Regions from separate parts of the Homo sapiens genome. Here regions 2 and 3 are each linked to region 1. Evidence: promoter capture Hi-C in human tissues and cell types (Jung and others, 2019). All regions are on one chromosome and are shown on one strand. The core of a region is centred on a gene start or on the middle of the fragment in contact, and the rest is flanking DNA. Distances in the headings are between cores, read along the strand shown. Region 1 holds the start of TFF3 (trefoil factor 3). Region 2 overlaps UBASH3A (ubiquitin associated and SH3 domain containing A). Region 3 overlaps UBASH3A (ubiquitin associated and SH3 domain containing A).

Region 1 (3,544 bases), core at 945-3,444:
AGAATCACAGGCGACAGAACCACCTGTCAGGGCGGGGCCCAGGCATTGATATTCTCCCCACTCCAGGCAATTTTGAGTGCAGCAGGTGGAGACCACAGCACCTGCAGAAGCTCCTTGCGGGGGTCCTTCCCCAGCAGGTCATGAGGGCCGGAGGGGCAGCAGTCTGTTCCTGGGGTGTTTGCACCCTCCTGGAACTCAGCCCTGCACCACGACCTGGCCTGGCCTCTGGGTACTAGGAGCAGTGGGAAGGCAGGGAGATCTCACCAGATCCCCCAGGGAGATCTCACCAGATCCCCCAGGGATTTCCCCTACAATGACCTTTTTAATAACATGAAAATCCTGCTGTCCATTGATGAACCTGGGTCCGCTGTCTCCCAGAAAAAGTGAGTGCCCCGAAAACAAGGCAGGCAACGCTCTTTCCTTCTTCCTCCTTCGCTGGCCTCAGCGGGAGTGGCACATCAGAGGCCAGGGGCCCTCAAATCCATCCACAAAGGGCGTGCTGAGCGCAAGGGCGGGGCCTGGGAGTCACAGGGCAGGACACATCCTGGTGCTCAGCACGTACGCCATCGAGCTCCCATGGGTCACTCGGGGAAGGGCAGTTTGTGGATGCACCCTTGGAGGCTCAAGGCCGCCCTGCACACACCACCGGGGACCCCAGCTGCAGGCTAAATCCAAGCAGCCAGGCGCTCCCATTTCTCGGGGTGATAAACCAAGTCCACCCTTCAGACAGAGGCTCCTGGAAGGGCCAGTGGGGGTCATCAAAATGCCTCCCTGGAAAAGAAACACGGAGAACACAAAATCTAGGGGCCCGTTTTCCTGGAATGAGATTAGTCTCTTGCCCACTACCAGCCAGTCCACTGCAGGAGGTTGGGGGGTTGGGGGATGCTGCGGATGCCGAGGGCGGAGGCTTAGGGTCCTGGGAGTGGGTTAAATACCAGCTATACCAGGGACACTGGAGTAACCTCTGATAGGCACCGGAAATGTTGAGTCTTAGTTTCTTCCTCTGGAAAATGGATAGAATCATCGCTGTCTCATCTGATATGTTGTTATAAAACAATTCCTGAGATGTAGTCTTTAGTTTTTAAAAGAGCACGCTGGGCAAAGGTGGAGAGTCAGTTCCTGTTTGTGTTAAAAATGTGGCCGAGTGCAGTGGCTCATGCCTGTAATCCTGACACTTTGGGAGGCCAAGGAAGGCAGATCACTTGAGTCCAGGAGTCTGAGACCAGCCTGGCCAACATGGCGACACCTGGTCTCTAAAAAAATACAAAATATTAGCTGGACACATGCCTGTGGCCCAGCTACTTAGGAGGCTGAGGTGGGAGGATCACTTGAGCCCCGCGAGGGCGGGGGTCTCAGTGAGTTGAGATTGTGCCACTGCACTCCAGCCTGGGTAACAGAGCAAGACCCTGTCTCCAAAAAAAAAAAACAAAAAAAAAACAAAAAAAAAACAAAACAAACAAACAAACAAAAACAAACCAAAAAAACGTGCTTAGATCCAGAGAGAAAAATTCTGAAAGGATACCTAAAAAAGTGTTCACAATAGATCAATAGATGCCTCTGGATAGGAAAGGCTCTTTTGTATTATTTGATTTTAAAAATCAATTATGTGTACCATGTTTTTACTAACATATTTTCAATCAATTCATTTCATCCACTTATTAAAATGTAGTTACTAATTTTTAGGGGAGAAAGCAAAAAGGAAAGACAAGGAATCTCTGTGTTTCAGGAGTTGTGAGAGAGCCGCAGGGTCCTGACTCACTCAGAGCTGCCTGTCTCCGAGGCCGATCTGGGATGAAGCAGCCTGGGGCTCTCTTGTCATGGGACCAGGGGTGTTCTGAGGGCTTCTGGCTGGGAGGCTGAGATGGAACGGACACCACACCCTGGTCCTGCCACCCCACATGGCTCCTGCACACTACACCAGGCCAGGCTAGGAGGGCAATTGACACACATCCGCTCCCCAGTAGAGGACCCGGAACCAGAACTGGAATCCGCCCTTACCGCTTGCTGCCAAAACAGTGGGGGCTGAACTGACCTCTCCCCTTTGGGAGAGAAAAACTGTCTGGGAGCTTGACAAAGGCATGCAGGAGAGAACAGGAGCAGCCACAGCCAGGAGGGAGAGCCTTCCCCAAGCAAACAATCCAGAGCAGCTGTGCAAACAACGGTGCATAAATGAGGCCTCCTGGACCATGAAGCGAGTCCTGAGCTGCGTCCCGGAGCCCACGGTGGTCATGGCTGCCAGAGCGCTCTGCATGCTGGGGCTGGTCCTGGCCTTGCTGTCCTCCAGCTCTGCTGAGGAGTACGTGGGCCTGTGTGAGTACTGCCCTGACTGCCCCGGTGGCAGGGTGGGCGTGAAGGGAAGGGATCCAGGATAAGGGGGGATTCTGCATTCATTTAATAATGGCCACCTGTCACATATACACTTTTTCCTGCGCTAGCCCTTTGAAGTGGGTCTTTATTGTCCCCATTTCACAGACAAGGAAACCGAGGCTCAGAGAAAGTTAACAACTTATCCAAGGCAGCCCTGCCCAGTCTGTGTTGAAATCAGGGTTTGAGCCTGAGCCCATCCCCTATGACCCCATAGCCATCTTTGCTGGAGATTTCTAAATTACAATATAGGTCTTTATGCATTGTTCCACATTTACAAAGAAAAAGGAAAGATGCAGGAGAAAAACCCTGACTTCAGAACACTGTCAATACCGGCAGGCACAAGGTTCATTTAGCCATTGCATAGCAACCCTGCCATGGGGTGTGGCTGCTCCATTAACCCAAGTTTGAAGGAATGAGGGCATGGCTTTTATCTGGGTGTCTTCTGAGCAGGGTCAAAGGCAGTGGTTCCCGAACTTGCAGCCCATTAGAATCACCTGGAGAGCTTTAAAAATCCTAATGCTTGGGGCACACCAGTTACATCAGGGCATCTCCAGGCAAGATCCAGGCCTCAGCTGTTTTGTTTTGAGATAGCCTTGCTTTGTCACTCACTGCTGGAGTGCAGTGGCACAATCTCAGCTCACTGCAACCTCCGCCTCCTGGGTTCAAGCAATTCTTGTGCCTCGGCTTCAAGTAGCTGGGATTACAGGCATGCACCACCATGCCCAGCTAATTTTTTGGATTTTTAGTAGAGATGGAGTTTCGCTATGTTGGCCAAGCTGGTCTCAAACTCCTGGCCTCAAGTGATCCTCCTGCCTTGGCCTCCCAAAGTGCTGGAATTACAGGTGTAAGCCACCATGCCCAGCCAACGTCAGTCATTTTTAAAGCTCTGCAGCTGATTCCAGTGTGAGCGAAGTTTGGATGCCAGGAGGATAAGCAATTACGGACTGGGAGCAAGAGAAGGGAATGTAAGACACTGCACGTGATTGCCATTTTCCTAAGGAAATACTCAGTTCGTTAATGAAACGCAGTGAACTTCTGCTGCACATACAGACATAGAGGCTTGCCTGAAACATGAAAATATTGGGGACTGAAGGATGTCCCGGGAGGGTGGGACATGCTCAACAATTCAGGAAGGGGAGATGCAGAAAAAAGTGAAAAGCAGGCAGCATGCGTTGCA
Region 2 (3,544 bases), core at 682-3,181, 110 kb before region 1:
GAGACAGGATTGGCCCCTATCATGACACATCCGTTTTTCTACTTTTCTGTCTTTTCTAAGTCCTTATCATTCCCATAGAGACGTCTTAGGACATTATCCCTATCTATATTATAATATGTATTGTTATAGTATAGATTACCTATCTATATATCTAGTCTCCTCTCTTGCTGGCACACTTCTTCTGAGAAACCCTCCAGGACTGCCCTGGTGTTGACCTGTTGAGGGGCCGTCCTTTTATGGCTCCCAGGTATGAATTCTGCTTCTGAGCACCAAGGGGAGAAGCCCTCATCCATCCCCTTGCTGTTTTCCCATAGCTGGTCATTCTCTGTTTGGCTGAATGCTAAAGGAAAACAGTACTTTATAGTTTATTTACTTCTTCTCGGCATGAGACTGGCCTTGGCGGTGGCCAGCAGCTTCGAGCCAGGGACAGCAGCTCTCTGGCACCTTCCTCCCCAGCCTCAGGCAGCCGCAGGATGGCCTTGGAGCCTTGCAGTTACAGGGCTCACGCCCGCCCTCTTTCTGGGGAGCCTGTGCTTTGGGGAAGTAGCCCAAAGGTCATGCTTGGGGCAGCGAGGCTGGCTACCCTTTGGGAGGGGCCTCCACTGTGTGGGATGGTGTTGTGGGGGGCTCTGTCCTCAGGGGCTAGGCCACCCTTCTCCCCATGCTGTGCAGGGCTGATCAAGTTGAGGGACTGGCCTTGAGAGGAACCCACAGCAAATGAGATGAAGAGAGTGAATGAGAGCTGAGGATGCCCCCCCTGGGACCAGAGAGCAGAGTGCTAGGGGCCGAGCCAGCTAGAGGCCACCAGGACAGCTGCGTGGAGCATAAGCCCTGCACCAGGACCCTGGAGGGAGACACCAGGCTCGGCTGCTTCCCTGGAGGGCACTAATGTGCCAGCTGACATCGGCCCTTCACCTACATTCCCAGCCCCAGAGCCAGGCCCAGGCTATCCAGGGGGGTCCATTTCAGAGCAAGAGGTGGGGAACCCTGCAGCAACACAGGCCCAGTGGTGCTGCCCTCTGGCACCCAGGACTCATGCCTCAACCTCCCTGTGACATGGCACCGCAGGGGGGAGCATGTCACATGCTGGTCCATGAAGCTGCAGTCCACAGCATCCCTGCTTTAGGGAGCTGCAGGTCTCCCTGGGCCAAGGGATGAACATGGAAAGATGAGTCATTAACAGAGATGGTGGGGGCAGAGCGAACACGGCCTGCCACGGGAGGTGGGCTGTGGGGCCTTCTGGGGACCAAATCCTGCCTGGAGCCCAGGCGACCAGGGATGGACGGGGTAGGGAGGACCCCTGGGCAGGAGGCAGCTCAGACAGGCACTATCCCTGCCCTGCTCCCTCTTGGCCACACAGCTCTCTCTGGGCTAAAATGAGAGGGCAGCTCTTGTGTGTGTTTTCCTACTGAGCAGGGTAAGGAAGAGAGGTGAGGAGAGGTAAGCCTTGTCTGCATAAACCCTCATACACCAGCCCCAGCATCGCCCTGATTCCCTCCAAATCCTAGAGAGGAAAATGCAAATGGCTTTAACATCCAAACACCCTCAGGGAGGAAGGGACTCATTTTCCACCTGGCCAGTGCAGCTGATCATTCCTGTCTGGACTTTCTTCTGTGAACAGTGATCCAGTCTCAAGGGTCTGCACTAACTGGCCACTCGCTCTGGCAAGAGTGGTCCCCCGTGGTGTCCCTGTACCTAGGGAAGTGATTGGAAACTACTGGGAAGGAAGGGACACCAGAAAGTAGGGTGGGGGCCAATTTCACCTGCCTTGAAAGCATTCTCGGGGTCAGCACCACGGGCAGCTCCTGCCAGATCCTGTGGATCCCTTGTGAAGTCCACGCTGGCCCGGACGATGCAGAATTTCCAGCTGCTGAAATTTATCAGGACCAGACAGTTCTCGGTGGCCCTGGCTACATTTGGTAGGTGCATAAACTATGGGATTGGTGAGCCAGTGAGAACGTTTGCAGTCACCATGCAAACACTTTCTTAGGGTCACTGGGCTGAGTCTTCAAAACGGATATACGGTAAGGCCAAGTGAATAGTATTGCTTTCCCTTATTGGAAAACTTCAGTTGTTTGTTTCAGGATAGAAACATGCATCTCCTGGGGAACAGCTTCAGGGGAAGGTTTGTCTTGCTGTCTTGCTCTCTTGCATGTGAAGTGTGGTTATGCAGAGGTTGCCTACACTGACACCAAGAGGCAGCACCCACCGCCCCTATCCCAGAATGAATATTAAAACATCCTAGAGAGCTGTAGAGAGCTGATCTGCAAGTAGATTGCAAAGCATGCATGCTCTTGGAAACTCATTCTGCCTAGTAACAAAGTCCCTGAAGTTTTCAACTTGCGGGCTGAAGTTTTGGATTTGGGGTATTTTCTTCCTGGAAGAGCTCAGAGCATTTTAAATGTTCTTCTGTGGAGCTTTGCCACAGGAATATGATGATAAAGCAAAAGAAAGCCCTGTGGGGAGTGGAATGGACTGACCCCTGGGATCTATGGAATGAGGCAGGGCTGCACCAATTCTCTAGACAGAAGGTGCTGCATTGGTGTCCTGGGGCTGCCATAACAGGCTGGGCGGTGCCAAGCAAGAGACATTTATTCTCTCACAGCTCTGGAGGCTGGAAGTCCAAAGTCAAGGTGTTGGCAGGGCCATGCTCCCTCTGACATTCTAGGGGAGAATTTATTCTTTGCTTCTTCCAGCTCCTGGTGGCCCCAGGTGTTCCTTGGCTTGTGGCCACATTGCTCCAGTCTCTGCCTCTCTGGCTGCATGGCCTCCTCTGCTGCTGTATCAGATCCCCTCTGCTTTTCTCTCATCAGCACACTTGTGATGGGGTTTAGGGCCCTCCTGGATGACCCAGGATCATTTCCTCATTTCAAGACCCTCCACTCAATCCCATCTGCAGAAACTCTCTTTCCTAATAAGGTCACATGCACAAGTTCCCGGGATTAGGGCATCATCTCTGGGGCCATGATTCTACCAGACCTGTGGCCAGTTGTCTTTTCTTACTGTAGGGAAGGGGTGAAATCCCTATAGAGAAGACCGTGTGAGGGGGGCCAGTTCACAGGCAGATGCATGTTCTGTTTTCAGCCATTGAAAGCACGGTTTAGACACAGGCTGAGCTACGAGCAGAGACTTCCATTCCAGGCTCTCCCCCTACCCAATACCTGGGTACTTCTCCACAGTACCCAGGTATTGGGTCAAATGTTATTTTAGATGTCACTGTGAAGGTATTTTTTAAAAATGAGATTAACATTTAAGTCACTAGGCTGAGTAAAACAGAATGGTCTCTGTTTTACTCCAGATGATAGGGTTGTTGGAATCCATGGTACTAGCTCAATCTTTTTAAATAGCTGAAAGTCCTTATTAAAAACATTTAAAGCTTTTTAAATAATCCCCAGGCCACAGCCCTGGGGAGTCTCGGCTCTCCCAAGTCTGGGCCTTTCTCACATGGTGAACGCTGATCGCCATTTCTCATGGACCCAGCTTCAGAGACACATTCTTGATTTCTCAAGAAAAGGCCTCCTCACCTAGCCACCAAGGCTGCAAA
Region 3 (3,544 bases), core at 399-2,898, 97 kb before region 1:
AAAGTGGGGAGCCCTCCCACCAAGGCACTGCGGCCTCGTCAGATTTTAGAGTCGGCAAATCTCAGCAATACTGAGTGCCTTCTGTGTCCCGGGAACTATGGCAGGATGGGCCACAGACTCAGGCAACATTGTTCTTGAAGAGTGAGAGCCCTCATTGTTTTGTAGAGAAAGAAAAAGAGACAGAGAGAGTGGACATGACTTGATTAAGGTCATGCCACTCATCAGGGACACAGAAAAAAATCACATCTTCTGACGTCAAGTCCACAATCCTTTCCACTAAACCCCAATGGTAGCCTTGGTCTCCAGGCCAGGGCTGGTGTTTGGAGAGAAGGGAATTTTGATGATTCTGAATATGAGTCTAAATAATCTTTCCCTGGAGAGGCCAAGGAGAGAGCACTAAGCTCATACTGAAAATACAGAAATAAGTCACGTAGGACTTGTGTGTCTCCCACTCAAGGCTGGGGTGGGGAGGCCCTGACTCCCTGTGTGCACCAGCCTCCAACCCCGTCACAGTCACCCACTCAGGCTTGATGCTTGGCACACCCTTCTGGGGCACTTTCCCAGGCTGTTGGCATATAGCTAAGCATTTTAAAAACCACATAATGAGAACAAGGCTATTCCCGCCTAAAGAGAAGACCAAAGCTGGTCCGGAAGCTTTCTAATGGCTTACATTTTTGAAGGATGTAGTGGCTCACGAAGGAGGCTCTAGTTAAATTGCTCAGCCTCAGGTTAGGGCCATGTCCAGGCACCTGGCTGAAAATCCAGAAGCGGGAAACGGAAGTGCCTGGGTGAGGACAGGTGCAGCCACTGAGCCCGGAAGAAAGCCCACCCAGCCATCCCACCATTGCTGCTGGGCTCTGCTCCCCTGGAACCCACCCACTGCATCCATGTGCCGGGGGCTAGTCCCTGCCACAGAGGGCTCACTCACTGTGAATCCAGCCCTGTGTTTGCAACTGGCCAGGGCTGCCCACCTGCTAAGAGAGATGCTTCCGTGGCGAAGGTCATGGCGAATTCCCGGATGACGTCTGCGGGGCTGCCACTGACGAAGAAGCCGAGGTAGCTGATGGAGGAGTGGAGAGCCAGAGGCACGGCCGTGGGGAAGGAGCCCAGGAGCCTGTCTCCAGCTCTCTTCAGCGCCTCGTACAGGCATTCCACCTTCTGGTCTTCACACTAAGGGGACAGAGACAGAGCCTGTGTTTCCACACCTCTCATCAGAAGTCATCTATTAATTTAATTAATAACAATCAGGCAGCAATTAAAGTGAGATTCTTTTCTGTTCAAAGCGCTGTAACATAATTTATTGCGTCCCTTTGTGTCTGGGGTTATGGATTTGTTCTATACCTGGACCTCGGTTTTTTCAAATATTTCAGGTAAGTTTCTTTGCAGGTTGGAGTCTCCTTTAGGTGCCCAGGTTGGAAATCCCCTGGTCGTTGAACTGCATCCCCTCCCTCCATGGCACGTGCTCATCACCTGCCAGGCCCTTTCCTCAGTCCCATGGCACACTGCTTTGCTCAGGTTTGCATGATTTGGCTTCTGGAGGTTTCTAGCAGACTCCAAGGCTGCCCAGGCACTGCTCAGAGCCTGTAGTGAGCGGGACTCAGCTGCACTTCCAGCTGCGGGGCCACCCTCTCTTCCACGGCTGAGCACTGAGTCGGGTTCCACAGGGACTCCTCTAAGGCACTGAGGCTCTGCCTGCCTCCAACCCTCTCCTCCTCTTTTGCCTTCACCAGCAGTCTCTCCCCTGTGCGTCTCCTGCACTGGGAATTCTGCCTTGGGGTCTGCTCCCTGGAGGACCTGAGCCTGCACAGCCCCTGGCCCGGCCTCCCTGATGCCCCCTGAGTGGCTGCAGGACCCTCTTTCTGATGCAGCTCCCACCCCTGAGGCCGCAGGCTCTCTGTCACCTGGAGAATCCCTCAGGCCCACGGAGCCCGACAGGTGCTGGCCCGACAGCCTTGCCCACGGGGCTCCCACCCCCATCCTCCAGCCAGACGCAGCCTCTCCTGACATCTGGGCTCGGTGTTGCCTACCGCCCTGGGGAGGCTGCTTCCTGGGCTTGAAAACCTTCCCAGTGCCATTGGCCACATCGGACCACAGGGGAAACCCAGACACCACACCCTCCTGGCGGGAGTTGGCCTGATCCCTTCTCTTCCCAGCACCGGGCTGCCCTCGGAATTTCCCACAGTGCTTCTTACAAGCCCAAGTATGAGGCCAGATCACAGTGTTTAATGCAGCTTCCGTCTCCCCATGGACAGGCCGGCCTGACATTCCTCCCTGTCTGTTTTCTCTGCAACCCTCAACGGCACTCAACACAAAACCACCCAGTGAACACATGTCCATTCCTGAATCCGTCTCACATTGTGTTTCTTGGCCTCAGATATGTAATTTTCAAGAATAGTCATGTTATAAGTGTAGCTGTGATCAATATCACACTTCGGAAGATTAGTGTTTTCATTTTACAGCATCAAGGTACACAGTGAGTCTCCGTTACACTCTTCTGCCTGTGAGGGGAGCTCCACTAACCACGGCCAGGCCAGAACTGGGGTGGGGGACTGGGAGGAGCTAACGACAGAGGGAGGTGTGTGAGTGTGTTTGTGTCTGCATATGTCTATATGTGTGTGTGTCTGTGTGTGTGTCTGCATATGCGTATGTCTATGTGTGTCTGTGTGTCTGCGTATGTCTATATGTGTGTCTGTGTGTATGCATGTGTGTATCTGTGTGCATATGTGTGCATGTGGTGCTTATGTGTGTGTCTGTATGTGTGCATTTGTCTATGTATGTGCATGTATGTGCATGTCTGTGTTTGTGCATGTGTGTCTATCTAATGTGTGTCTCTGTGTGTGTCTGTGTGTGTCTATGTGCATGTATCTGTGTATTCCTGTGTGTGTATATCTGTGTGTATCTGTTTGCATGTGTACCTATGTACATGTAGTGTGTATGTGTGTCTATCTGTGTGTGTCTGTGTATGTCTGTATCCATGTATGCATGTATATATGTGTGTGTCTGTGTGTCTATATCTATGTATGTCTGTATGCAGGTATGTGTGTGTATCTGTGTGTGCTGTGTACGTCTCTGTGTCTATCTGTGTGTGTCTGTGTGTATCTGTGTCTCTGTGTGTGTCTGTATGCATGTATGTGTGTGTATCTGTGTGTGCCGTGTGTACGTCTCCATGTCTGTGTGTGTCTGTGTGTCTATATCTATGTATGTCTGTATGCATGTATGTGTGTGTATCTGTGTGTGCCGTGTGTACGTCTCTGTGTCTATCTGTGTGTGTCTGTGTGTCTATATCTATGTATGTCTGTATGCATGTATGTGTGTGTATCTGTGTGCATGTGTAAGTCTCTGTGTCAATCTGTGTGTGTCTATGTGTGTGAGCTATGTGTGTGTCTCTGTGTCTATCTGTGTGTGTGTGTGTGTGCTTGCACCTCAGTGGGCTGGGGAAGGAGTGGGGGGCCAAGGCCTGCTCTGATTTCTGAGCTGTGTCACATGGCTTGGGCTGCCTTGCCTTTCCCCGTTGGCTCCAGAGGGTGAACCAGAAGGGAGTCAG

The links. The method cuts DNA at HindIII sites, captures the fragments that hold promoters and counts their contacts. A contact is called where the count stands out against the background at its distance.
Region 2: a contact is called between a fragment that was not itself captured here and the fragment with the promoter of TFF3 in region 1, in 9 of the 25 tissues and cell types used here (IMR-90 fibroblasts, bladder, dorsolateral prefrontal cortex and 6 more).
Region 3: a fragment that was not itself captured here is called in contact with the fragment with the promoter of TFF3 in region 1 in 2 of the 25 tissues and cell types used here (heart right ventricle and lymphoblastoid cells).

Annotation. Positions count from the first base shown.
Region 1 is chr21:42,314,059-42,317,602 of GRCh38, reverse strand. TFF3 (trefoil factor 3) reads left to right here and starts at 2,194. Exons shown (of 3, transcript NM_003226.4): 1 at 2,194-2,310. The coding sequence starts at 2,229. RefSeq lists enhancers at 1-474, 475-1,094. The HindIII fragment of the contact is 18,141 bases long and covers 1-3,544 here.
Region 2 is chr21:42,428,321-42,431,864 of GRCh38, reverse strand. The region is part of intron 8 of UBASH3A (ubiquitin associated and SH3 domain containing A); the gene reads right to left. Among named protein-coding and RNA genes, the nearest start is that of UBASH3A, 26 kb to the right of the region's middle. The HindIII fragment of the contact is 9,602 bases long and covers 1-3,544 here.
Region 3 is chr21:42,410,650-42,414,193 of GRCh38, reverse strand. It overlaps UBASH3A (ubiquitin associated and SH3 domain containing A), which reads right to left. Exons shown (of 15, transcript NM_018961.4): 4 at 972-1,170; 5 at 671-784. Among named protein-coding and RNA genes, the nearest start is that of UBASH3A, 8.5 kb to the right of the region's middle. The HindIII fragment of the contact is 6,450 bases long and covers 1-3,544 here.